Linked DNA regions of Homo sapiens: regions 2, 3 and 4 are each linked to region 1. Evidence: promoter capture Hi-C in 16 types of primary human blood cells and fetal thymus (Javierre and others, 2016). All regions are on one chromosome and are shown on one strand. The core of a region is centred on a gene start or on the middle of the fragment in contact, and the rest is flanking DNA. Distances in the headings are between cores, read along the strand shown. Region 1 holds the start of CD93 (CD93 molecule). Region 2 overlaps GZF1 (GDNF inducible zinc finger protein 1). Region 3 overlaps LOC105372568 (a long non-coding RNA gene). Region 4 has its middle 110 kb from the start of LINC01747.

Region 1 (3,303 bases), core at 435-2,934:
GTGACTCCACACCCCACAGGGACTTCCCAGACATGCCGCCATGCCCACCTCTCAGCCACAGGGACCCCACGGAGCCCGTGTCTGTTTGCTCTAAACCCACCAGTGAGAAGTCCCCTTGGGAAACCTGCTTGGGAAACGTCCTGGACCCCAATAAAGGCTTAGGACCCAGGTCTCTCTCTCTCCCTTCACCCCCCTCCAGGTGAGTGTTTGTGACCCAGACAGCTCCCCACTTTTTGCTGGCCCCGTGGGGTGCACTGCCCTCTCCCTGGGATCTGTAAGTGACACGGTGCTTGTGTTGCTTCCTGTGTCTTCTTGTGCTGCCTCCTGCATCTCCCCTGACCCACACCCCAACCCAACTCTCCTCCCATCAGGGATCTCTTAGGAAGTGGCTGTCTTGATAGGAATAAACTGGACATGGGTCAGACGAGAGCCACAAGGGTGTCTGTCCATAGAAACAAGTTTTATGTGAGAGAGACCCCTGGTCACTGGGCAGGGCTAGAATTTATAGTCAGTCTCTCAAAGTGAGAGATACAGCCTGCTACCAATGACAGGGGACTTGGAGAGCAGTGGAGCCTCTCCCTCAGCTGAGATGGTGCTGAGGTGTGGTCCCCTCAGGCCCCCAGAGTTTCCTGGCACTGGCTCCAGCAGCCCAGGGTCACCTTCTCAGCAAGTCATCATGGGTTGGCTTCCTCCTTGTCTGTTTCACTTCCCCTCCCACATAAACTAGTCTCCCCAAATCCTGTCTCAGGGTCCCCTCCTGGGGGATCCCAACCAATGAGCAAAGGTCTGTGGCTGCAGGAAAAGCACACTGTGAGTCCCTGGCTTTTGCCGAGTCGCGGTGTCGCGGGAGGGCCTGCCCGGGCTTCGATTCCCGCTCCCTGCCCAGATTTCCGGCCCTTGCTAGGAATCCTGAGCCGGGGGAAGTGAGCCTGCAAGCCCTGCGCCACGAGGCCGGACACATTTTCATTTTCTTTCTGATGCTTTTTGTGACCCTGACACCTCACAATGCAATATTTCCACTATGAAACCCCCAGAACTGCCAAATTTCACCCAATTTGGATTAACATTATCGAGGAGCTTGGCATTATGTTGAAAACCCAGACATTCCCACGACCCGTATCCTATTTAAAAAATGCCTGTCTATTTAAGGTTCACGATGGGAGGATAAAAGAAAAAAGGCTCCCAAAGTCAACAGAGAACATGAGCTAGGCAAAAGGAAAGTCCAGTTTGCTTCTAAAAAAGGCTGAAAATTATAACCATCCATGGCCTTGTGTCTTAAGTCTCAGAATTTTTTTTTTCTCTTTTGGTGGTTTGCAAACCAAAGTGGAATTTTATTATGGGTTACTAAGGGAGCTTCCTCGAGTTCCTAGCCCCCAAAGCCCCTGCTCACTCCATGGCATGCCTCCGAGGCTCCTCATGCCATGAGAAAGAGAATGGAGCCAAAATCAAGCCGGCAGTATCTCGGGGCTGTAACGTCTTCCCCCCGTCGCTGTTTCCACAGTGCTGAGCCAGGGACCCGGCAGAGCTGCCTGACTCCTTTTATGAACAACAGCACCGTGATGAAGGCAGCAGGAGTCAGAGAACTATTCATTGCAGGAAGCCCCAACATCCGGTGAGAAATAAGAAGTACAACAGTACAGGATGCGCCTTGGGTCAGGGGGACGTGGAAAGCCCTCAGCCTTTGTGTCCTTCTCTGCGCCGGAGTGGCTGCAGCTCACCCCTCAGCTCCCCTTGGGGCCCAGCTGGGAGCCGAGATAGAAGCTCCTGTCGCCGCTGGGCTTCTCGCCTCCCGCAGAGGGCCACACAGAGACCGGGATGGCCACCTCCATGGGCCTGCTGCTGCTGCTGCTGCTGCTCCTGACCCAGCCCGGGGCGGGGACGGGAGCTGACACGGAGGCGGTGGTCTGCGTGGGGACCGCCTGCTACACGGCCCACTCGGGCAAGCTGAGCGCTGCCGAGGCCCAGAACCACTGCAACCAGAACGGGGGCAACCTGGCCACTGTGAAGAGCAAGGAGGAGGCCCAGCACGTCCAGCGAGTACTGGCCCAGCTCCTGAGGCGGGAGGCAGCCCTGACGGCGAGGATGAGCAAGTTCTGGATTGGGCTCCAGCGAGAGAAGGGCAAGTGCCTGGACCCTAGTCTGCCGCTGAAGGGCTTCAGCTGGGTGGGCGGGGGGGAGGACACGCCTTACTCTAACTGGCACAAGGAGCTCCGGAACTCGTGCATCTCCAAGCGCTGTGTGTCTCTGCTGCTGGACCTGTCCCAGCCGCTCCTTCCCAGCCGCCTCCCCAAGTGGTCTGAGGGCCCCTGTGGGAGCCCAGGCTCCCCCGGAAGTAACATTGAGGGCTTCGTGTGCAAGTTCAGCTTCAAAGGCATGTGCCGGCCTCTGGCCCTGGGGGGCCCAGGTCAGGTGACCTACACCACCCCCTTCCAGACCACCAGTTCCTCCTTGGAGGCTGTGCCCTTTGCCTCTGCGGCCAATGTAGCCTGTGGGGAAGGTGACAAGGACGAGACTCAGAGTCATTATTTCCTGTGCAAGGAGAAGGCCCCCGATGTGTTCGACTGGGGCAGCTCGGGCCCCCTCTGTGTCAGCCCCAAGTATGGCTGCAACTTCAACAATGGGGGCTGCCACCAGGACTGCTTTGAAGGGGGGGATGGCTCCTTCCTCTGCGGCTGCCGACCAGGATTCCGGCTGCTGGATGACCTGGTGACCTGTGCCTCTCGAAACCCTTGCAGCTCCAGCCCATGTCGTGGGGGGGCCACGTGCGTCCTGGGACCCCATGGGAAAAACTACACGTGCCGCTGCCCCCAAGGGTACCAGCTGGACTCGAGTCAGCTGGACTGTGTGGACGTGGATGAATGCCAGGACTCCCCCTGTGCCCAGGAGTGTGTCAACACCCCTGGGGGCTTCCGCTGCGAATGCTGGGTTGGCTATGAGCCGGGCGGTCCTGGAGAGGGGGCCTGTCAGGATGTGGATGAGTGTGCTCTGGGTCGCTCGCCTTGCGCCCAGGGCTGCACCAACACAGATGGCTCATTTCACTGCTCCTGTGAGGAGGGCTACGTCCTGGCCGGGGAGGACGGGACTCAGTGCCAGGACGTGGATGAGTGTGTGGGCCCGGGGGGCCCCCTCTGCGACAGCTTGTGCTTCAACACACAAGGGTCCTTCCACTGTGGCTGCCTGCCAGGCTGGGTGCTGGCCCCAAATGGGGTCTCTTGCACCATGGGGCCTGTGTCTCTGGGACCACCATCTGGGCCCCCCGATGAGGAGGACAAAGGAGAGAAAGAAGGGAGCACCGTGCCCCGT
Region 2 (3,050 bases), core at 227-2,726, 280 kb before region 1:
TACGCTAGCAGTTTTGCAGGTGTTCAATCTGTCAGTCATACTTTGTTTACTGCCTACAAATGGGGGGTGGGGAGGAATGAATGCAACAATCTATTTCTTCAGTTGCATTTGAGGGTCCCCACAGAAAATCTGATTTGCTTCAATTCAACAGGGAAGAAATGACTGAAAATATGTGGCCCCAGTTTTATTTCAGCTTGGAAGAAAAATACCTTGAAAGTAGTTATGAGAGAAGTAAACCCACATGGAAATATAAGGCAGAGTGAGAAGCCAGGAAGACTGCTAACTACAATATCAGGAGCTGGTTCAGTTCTCTGTACTCTGCAATTAAGACCAGCAGTTATCTATAAACTAGGTAATCAAGAATTAGAACGATTAGCACATACACCCTACACCAGAATTAAGTGAGGTTATGTTCACTGCCTTTTTGTCAATAAAGTAGCTGAGATCATGCAGATCAGGATTTTTGAGGGAAAGCTTTAAAAATGCTGTGATAAAGCCGTGCAAGTTAGCAGAAGTTCAGGAAAATCTGCAGAGGCCATTCTTGCCCACATCTTTGCACATGGACAATTATTTTTCTTAGCCCCACATCATCTTGAGTTCAGCTACCACACACGCAGACTAACAGGATGGGAACTGCTTGAAGCTCTTATTCCATGTTGCTCAAAGAGTGAAGCTGTGTGGGCATCGAGTCTGTCTGTGGGGTCAGCTCGCTAAGCTCACTGATGGTGGTGGCCAGGAGGGTGTCCTGGGACACCACGGAGTCATCTGCCTTGCAGGCTGTGTCAGCAGAACTGTTCTCCTGCATGGTAGGTACAGTGTCTTGGACTGCAGCCAGGTTGTGGAAATGGCCATTTTCTGCAAAAGACAGCAATTTATCCGAAAGCTTGGATGACACATACTCTTCGTCAGGCTGTTCAGTCTTGTGTCCGTCATCGTTCTTGGGCGAGCCATCTACAATGACAAGGAAAGACTTCCATGGAGTATTCTTATCGTGTATCTATAAGTTAAACACAAAACAAAGGTCACTGAATGTGTCTCTGGACAAGTGCATCTTTTAAAACAATAGTCCCTCTACAACTTCAATTTTCAACTTTCACTAATAAGTACCCGCCTGCCACCACCCTCACTGTTACAGAGTAGTCATCGTGGATGGTGCTTTCCCTGGGCCTTGGGGCTTGGTGTTCCACTTCATTCATTCCGTGAGCGTTCCACTGCAGAGACAACCCAAGGAGAAAGTACCTGTTGTCTCGACCTCTAACCACCTTGGAGAATGGTGGTAGGTATTTCTCTTTCCGTGCATCTAAGGGCAGCAGCTTGTTTCTCAAATAAGCCAACCCACTGCTTACTGAGGTGTGCCGCCGAAGAGTGGACTTGTCGGTGAATGTCCGTCCGCACGCATTGCACATGAATGGCCTCTCCCCTGTGTGGATGCGGCGGTGGCGCTGGAGGGCGTTGAGCTGGGTGAACTGCTTGCCGCACTGGTCACAGCAGTAGGGACGCTCCCCTGAGGCAGGGAGAGAGGAGACTGCTGGTGGGTCCCTTTGGCCTACTGTGCTTAATTCTGAATACACACTTGAGTGAATGATGCTGTTGCAAACCACTGGGAAGCCTCAGCATCCAACATAAGGAAGGTTATGTTGGGAACAACTTAAGGGCTACAAATCCACTATCTCTATAATACCAAGAATTTATGGCCTACACCAAAAAGGGGCCAGGACATGTGCCTGCAGCAGGTATTATAACTATAGGAATGACACCTGTTTTCCATGGTAATGGAGTATAAAATTACAAGACCCCTAACAACTGAATATGCATGTGTGCATGTGCATTTACTAACATGTACAGATCATTATCCCTATGTCCACACATCCACATCCACTTCCTACATTCACACCATGACTAAGCTGTCTGTCCTTTTCAGTAAAAACTCCATGTAGCAAAGGGACTTAGTCTTCTCCCGTTTACACACATAAGTGCTCCCACTTTTCAGTTTCTCAGAGTTAGAAACAATCTCTAAAGAAATGCTATTATGACATACAAAGTTTGGCCAGTTTTCTTCAAAAGCTTAGTTCCAAGTAATTTACTGGTAAATCTACAAGCTTTAGAATTTTTTTTTTGGCCAAACTAAACTCCCTTCCCTGGGACATTCCAACCATACCTGTGTGGACTTTAATATGCTGGTACAGTGAATTCCGCTGGGCAAAAGTCCTGAAACATACTTCACATTTAAAGGGTTTGGATCCAGTATGGATTCTATTGTGGTGTTTTAAGTACTCCTTAGAAGCAAAACTCTTGCCACATGTTTCACACATAAAAGGTCTTTCACCTACATGAGAAAATGAAATAAAGTCATAAACAATACAGGCATTAAAAACACATGGAACAGTAGGTCTCCACTGTTAAAACCCACGTGAACTCAAAAGTGCCTTGGTAGGCAGCATGTTACATTTTCCAGTAAAAACTATCATAAAATATATATTCATGTAAGATGCTTGCTACTTACTGAAAGTTGGTGTAAAATATCCTTGGAAATTGCAAGAAAAATTCCATTTGACTAGAATCAAAGAGGTATTGTTTGTTCAGCTGGCTCACATTTTAGAAATTTACTCATTCCAAACAAGAAAATAATTTCACAACTTCTGTTTGGAGGAACTGCTGGATTATTTTCAAAGGAACACTTCTATGGATCTTTATCAGAATAAAGGGGAAGTTGACAATGGATATATATCACTATTCTAGAGTAGCAACTCCAATCAACTTGATTGAATTGTAGGACAAGAGTTTTAAATATCTCACTTTTTGTAGTTTAATCCCACAAATCAGACTTACCAAATTATTAGCTGTGCCCGATTTCACAGACATCAAAATAAAAATAGTGACTTTAATAAAATCTTACCATGTTAATATTATCAAAGGACCAATTCTAACTTAATCCTTCATTATAACCTGACCTTGTCCCCAATCCCAAGCTTTCTTTAAACAATTCTACTCATTCTGTAGTCATAATGCATGTCATTAAATGCTAATTTCATGACATTAAATGAGATTTT
Region 3 (3,128 bases), core at 180-2,679, 260 kb after region 1:
TGCAGCCATAACAAAGAATTGAATCATGTCCTGTGTAGCAACATGGATGCAGCTGGAGGCCATCCAGCTTTGCTCACTAAGTGAACTAATTCAGAAGCAGAATATCGCATATTCTTACTTATAAATGGGAGCTAAAGAATGGGTACACATGGACATAGAAATGGAGAGATAAAACTATGAGGACTCCAAAAGTGGAGAGGCTGGGAAGGAAGTGGGGGTTGAAAAATTACCTTTTGGGTACAATGTTCAATATTTGGTTAATGGATACACTAGAAACCAAACCTCCACCATTACACCTGTAATACCCATGTAACAAACAAGGACGTGTACTCCCTGAATCTAAAATTTAAAAAAAATAAAAATAAAAATAAATAAATAAAATGGGGTGGATGAGCTGCTACTTCCATGGTCACCTGAGGCTACAGAGTGGCTGTGCAGATGCCATGACTTAGAGTTGTCCCACCAAAAGGAGGGGTGAGGAAGTCAGGGTCTCACCCATCCTCATTGTTTGAGCACTGTTACAGGAGGTGGGGGTAGGTCCCCAGTCACTTGTGGCCCATCCACGTGGAGGCCAGAGAACACCTTTGGCATGTACAGGGATGTCTCAGGTTACCTCTGAGAATTTGAGGGATGTGGACAGCGCCAGGCAGCATCCGCTATTTCCTTTCTTTCTGACCTGCAAAGATTCTGCTGCAAGGTTGAACATAGAAATCCAGGTTGCAAAGAATTTAGTCTCCTACCACTAAACCTGTAATCACTGTATACCCAGGTGTCTTAAAGGAGGAAGAGAAAAAAGAAGCATTATAGTTGGCTCAAAGCATATAGTTGGCTCCAAGAGATGTCTGTGTGGACCCAAATCAAGGTCACCCATACCAGTCCCCTCCCATTTCTGTGAGAGCCCCTCAAACTCACCCATTCTTTAAGGTGAAGTTGGGCCCCCTCTTCCACAAAGCCTTGCCAGGCTACACAGCCACAGGGCTCTCTTCTCTCCACTCCCAGGACAGAAATGCAAGCAGGCTTCTGCGTGGGTGTCTGCCCCAAGGGACTGGAAGTGGCTGCTCAGAGTCTGAGGCTGCTTTCTGGCTTGGTGGAAGAAAGCGAAGGGATTGATTCAAGAAGCTACCAGGAAGGAGAAGAACAAAGGCAAAGTATTTCCAGAATACAACTCGACTGGCCTCTTCCTCTCCTTTATCAGGAAGCAGAAGCCTGGGGGAAAAGGACCTACACATAAATGCATTGGGCAGCTACAGGAGAAGAGATGCATGTGGTGCAGTGGCTTTGAGGCTGGAGGTATTGCTGTGCCGTAGGCAGGCACCACCTGGCCCAGCCCAGCACCGAAGTGTCTTCAACACATATTGCTGGAACTGAATTGTGTTTCATGGATTTGAACTGAGGAGGTGGATGAGCCAGGGAGGAAGAGGAAGGGCTCGAGGGATGAAGCCCAATGAGCTTACATTTTAGGCTCAAGCTGACCTCAAATCTAAGGCCTATGTAAAAAGGGCTGGTGATTCAGACTAATATTTTTACCCATTGACTTATTCTCCAGCCCCCTCACAGCAATGCAAACCAGATTTGCACCAACTCCTTGATTGCTTCAGAGGTCACGTTACTTACGATGCACGGCTCTGAGGGTTTCTCTGTGATCTTAGCTCCCTGTGGTGCTGGGGTTCTGATGACTGTCAGCTCTCAGACCTGGGCCGCCCTGGGGGCTGTCAAGTCACGCTTACTGAAGGCCTGATATTCTTCCATGTTGGAAAATACATTCTTAATTATCATTCAGAATGATCCTTGTTGCTGGGAATGGCAGGTAGGCTCTGGGATCCCACTTTTGCTGATGACATGGGTCTTCACACCCAAGCAGCCTGAATGGAGGGACAAAGGCAAGAAAAAGAGAACACTTCTCTGAGTAGAGAGAGAAAGGGGAGAAAAGGCTGCTGTTGCTTTAACAAACATGAATCGCAGAACAGCAGGCCTGCCAACAAATGTGGTTCCTATTGATCTATCAAAACAGAACTAGCATCTTGAGATTTAAATAAGACACATGCTTAATAGGGCAGCTTCTTTTGGCAAAGGGAGTGAGGATTTGCCTGTGATGCACATTTAAAAACAGCCCGCCCAAACTGAGGGTCGCGCTACGAACCTAACCTGGAGTGGTCAAATGTCCGGGCCATGGAATATAAAGGAAGGTAGGGGTTCTCCAGGTGAAGGGAGGCCAGGGAGAGGTCAGCAAAGTGCAACATGACCTTGCGGCTTCTTTCGCCTCCACCAGGGACTTTACTGGTGCAGTCAGTGAAATCTGAATAAGGTCTGTAGATTAGATAATAGGTTTGTATTGGCCTTAATTTTCTGATTTTGATAATTTTTGTAGTTAAGTGAGAGAATGTTCTTGTTTTTACACACACTGAAGTCTTTAGGCGTAAAGGGGAGGAAAGAGAGAGAGAGCAGAGAGTAAAAATGCTCACATTTGGGGTCTCCAAGTGAAAGGTATCTGGGAACTCTCTGTGTTCTTCCTGTAACTGTTCTGTAAGTCTGGGCGGCTGGTGGCCTTGCCCTCTTCTTGACCTGAGACCAGCTCTGGATACAGAGACCCACATTTTTTTTTTCATCCCTTTGAATTTTACCTGCCTGGTCCTGGGCCTGCTCTAGTCAGGGTCTCTGAGAGGACCTGGCATAGCCCTGGCCTATGGCCCCCAACCTCATGTCCCCTTCGATTAGGACACCTTGATATATGCCCCCGTTGTCCTGGTCTCCCCTAGCCCACCTGCCTGTGTTTCTGCTGGCTGCCCACATGCCACCTACTTGCATAAAAGAATAGCTCCCTTCTCCCCCTTCCTCACCCCTGCCCCATGTCATTGTGAGACTGCTAGTGGAGCCCCTCCCTTCCTCACTGGGCCCAGGATGTCCGGCCACACTGGGTCTGTCCCACGCCCTGCCAGCGCCCATCCTTCCTGGGAGCCTTCAGTGCTGCTGACCAGAACTCCACTTGGGCTTCCAGCAGGCTGGTAGCCGCCTGTTGGAATGGTGGGGCCAGGCCACAGGGCAGACATGGACCCACCATGGCGGGCTGTAACTCCAATGAGCCTAATGAAATCTCATGCTTCATGAATCAGAAAGCTTTCTCCCATGCC
Region 4 (3,050 bases), core at 268-2,767, 300 kb after region 1:
AATATTTTTACTTTTTTCTTTCTACTGGATCACTCCCAACATCATGCAAACATCTGGTGATTTCTCTTATCTTGAGAAAACCCTGTCTTAGCCCTATATTCCCCTACAAGTGCCACCTCATTTCCTTGCTGTCCTTTAAAAGAAATCTCACTTTATCTTCCCATTTTCTCTTGAGTATGCTCAAACAAAGGATATTCGAGTCAACTTGAGATGCCCCTGCCACTCAATCAATCATGTCCTACTTCTGGAGCTCCAGGCACTGTTTTAGACACTGGAGACAAATTAGTCTTTTGCTGATGACATCCATGCTACTAAATCCACAGCCAGGGCCCTGTTGTCACCTTCTTGGCCTGTCGGCATGAGCTAGTGCAGTGAGTCATGCCCTGCTCCTCAGCATTTCTGACCCTCGCATATATCTCCTGCACATCTATATTTATGTTCTTAGGAGATGTTCTTGGAAATGGAATTATTATTACTATGTGAGAAGTTACCAACATTCATTTTCTTAGCAAAAGGTAAAGCCGAATCAATACTACGTATTTGGAGAAAACTTAAATTCTAAGACATGTTCTCAAGACAGTGTAGACTTACCCTAATCTCCACAGCTGTCTATAGCTATGATACAATAACACCTTATGAATCAATGTATAATAAGGTTCTGTGTGGATTCAATAAGGTCACCATGGATTCAATTTTCTTCACTATGTGAATAAAAGCAAGAAAACAAATATTTGCATTTAGAAATAACTCTTACCTCACAAGCAGGAATAAGTAGGGTTTTCTAATGCTCCTTGGTAAGGAAGTATGAGGTCAGAAAGGCTGGGTCCAGCTCTTCCTCAGCTACTTATTAGATCTACAGCCATGAAAGAGTGATGACTCCTTGGCATCTCAGTTGTCCTTATCTTAAATGACGAGGTTGGACCAAATGGCCAAGGAGCAAAATTTTCGTTCAGCTATGAGAGGCTATGAGTCTACCAGAAATGATAATTTTCAAAAGCAACTCATTTGGTTTCTTCTACAGTTGAGTCCACATCAACCCAGTAATTCCACTATTAGACATTTACCCAAGAGAAACAAAAGCATATATCTGCAAGAACTCTTGCACCAAAATTCTCATGGTAGACTTGTTTGTAACCAACTCAAAGGACAAGCCATCCAAACATCTCTCAAGTGAATATACTCATGAACTCCTACTCAACCATAAAAAATAACTACTGATGCATACAACATACATAAATATTAGAGACACATTGAGTGAAAGAAGCTTAGCACATACTGTATGAATCCATTCACATGAAGTTGTAGAAATGAAAAACATAATCTTTTGGTGCTTGAAGTCAGACCATGGTTGCCTTGGGTTGGGACAGTGGATGCTTGACTGGGCAGAGGCACAGGAAACCGTCTTGGATGATATAATGTTCTGTGTCTCATACAGAGTGGTGATTATACACAGGTATATAAAACTGACAAAACTCATCAAGTCAAACACCAAAGAATAGGGCATTTTATTGCATGTATATAATATTCCCAAAAACATACACTTTAAAGCCCCATCCCCTAAGCACTGAGTCCAAATGTGGAATTGAAGAGTGAATTGGATGCACTGCCAATCATTGGCATGCTGCCTTCATTTTGAGGCACACATTTGAAGTTTTTGGGTGCACCCAGCTATGGGAGCAGGACGGCTCAGCCCAAGTAACAAGCTCCTCAGCCTGTGGTTCTGAATCTGGGCCTGGTCTCAGACTTCCCTGTATCCTTTGGGCAAGCTTGCTTTCCTGTCTCACCTCAGGGCTGAAAAACTGAGCTGAAGTGCTCAAATGCCTCAGAGCCCCCAGGTGAGTGGTGAAGCCCTTTTAGAGGAAATACCAAATGCAACTCTAGAATGGATGTAGCGGTGTAGCCTCCCAAAGTCCATTCTTAGTGGTTGGCTCACAGAAGTCCCAAAGCTGCCAATGTGCTTTATCTCAATTTTACAAGTGCTAAGTACTGGAATTTAAAGCCAAGAACAGTCCTTTCAGAGTACGAGAAACACATGTTTCCCCACAGATGGTGGGACCAAAGCTTATGACCTTTGGGGAGAAGTCTTCACAGCTGTGTGATTATCTGAGCAGTTTCCTACTGGGAAGGACATGTGGAGACCAGAGATATAAACCCTAAGCAAATAAATACCAATCTGGGTAATTCAAGTAGCCCTGGAAATCCATGGTGTGACTGAATTCTTCTGCCAGGGAAGGGAAAAGTCCACCTGGAAATGGTGCTGCTGTGTTTCCTTCGGCTCTCGGTCAGTGGACGTGAGGCATGTGTCAGTGCAGCAGCGAACTTGGAGAGAAGAGAGTTCTGCATCACTGAGAAATATGCAAAAGAGCAAAGGATAGGGGTAGGGAAAGTTCTGATTGTGAGTTTGTCCCTTCCATTGAGGCTGTTAGACCAGGAGCGGGGAACTAGTTCCACCAGAGGCCACCTGCCAAAACTGTTAATGTGGAACTTTGAAATTCACAAAAAAAGCCATGTCATTTGGCATGTGTTGTTTTACCAATGCTTTTCTAATTTATGTTGAATGCATTAAACTTGAGAAATAGAATAGCTCAGACTAAAAAAACAAAAACAAAAATCTCTTATAATCTCATTGCTCCAAGAAGACTTGGGTTAACACGTCAATGTATGACTTTCATATTCAGGCATACCTCACTAATCTATAGAAATACATTCTGAGAAATGGGTTGTTTGGTAAGTTTCTCCTTTTGAAAATATCATACCATATACTTATACAAACTTAGATAGCATAGCCTACCACATATCTACGCCATATGTTATGACCCATGCTCTTAGGCTGCAAACCTGTATAGCCTGTTACTGTACTGAATACTGTAGGCAACTGTAACACAAAGCAGTAGGCAATAGTAATCTCTCAACTTCATTACAATTTTCCAGGAACAACATCATATATGCAATCTGTCAATCAAATGTCACTATGTGGCACATGACTGTTTATGCAAATATAGAACATTACTAAAATGTTGCCACACTATTACATTGTTTTGTAGCTTGTT

What was found. Contacts are between HindIII fragments. The CHiCAGO score rates a contact against its expected background, and 5 or more counts as called.
Region 2: a fragment that was not itself captured here is called in contact with the fragment with the promoter of CD93 in region 1 in 2 of 17 cell types (neutrophils and monocytes); the score reaches 6.9 in neutrophils.
Region 3: a contact is called between a fragment that was not itself captured here and the fragment with the promoter of CD93 in region 1, in 1 of 17 cell types (neutrophils). The highest score is 7.0, in neutrophils.
Region 4: a contact is called between a fragment that was not itself captured here and the fragment with the promoter of CD93 in region 1, in 1 of 17 cell types (endothelial precursors). The highest score is 5.9, in endothelial precursors.

What each region holds. Positions count from the first base shown.
Region 1 is chr20:23,084,705-23,088,007 of GRCh38, reverse strand. It overlaps CD93 (CD93 molecule), which reads left to right and starts at 1,684. Exons shown (of 2, transcript NM_012072.4): 1 at 1,684-3,303. The coding sequence starts at 1,816. RefSeq lists an enhancer at 1,521-1,700. The HindIII fragment of the contact is 6,182 bases long and covers 1-3,303 here.
Region 2 is chr20:23,368,038-23,371,087 of GRCh38, reverse strand. It overlaps GZF1 (GDNF inducible zinc finger protein 1), which reads right to left. Exons shown (of 6, transcript NM_022482.5): 4 at 2,159-2,326; 5 at 1,347-1,504; 6 at 1-997. The coding sequence ends at 647. Among named protein-coding and RNA genes, the nearest start is that of GZF1, 7.4 kb to the right of the region's middle. The HindIII fragment of the contact is 1,181 bases long and covers 886-2,066 here.
Region 3 is chr20:22,822,176-22,825,303 of GRCh38, reverse strand. It overlaps LOC105372568 (a long non-coding RNA gene), which reads right to left. Exons shown (of 3, transcript XR_937351.2): 2 at 1,615-1,862; 3 at 922-1,119. Among named protein-coding and RNA genes, the nearest start is that of LINC01747, 140 kb to the right of the region's middle. RefSeq lists an enhancer at 2,960-3,128. The HindIII fragment of the contact is 3,374 bases long and covers 1-3,116 here.
Region 4 is chr20:22,788,856-22,791,905 of GRCh38, reverse strand. No RefSeq gene overlaps it. Among named protein-coding and RNA genes, the nearest start is that of LINC01747, 110 kb to the right of the region's middle. The HindIII fragment of the contact is 502 bases long and covers 1,267-1,768 here.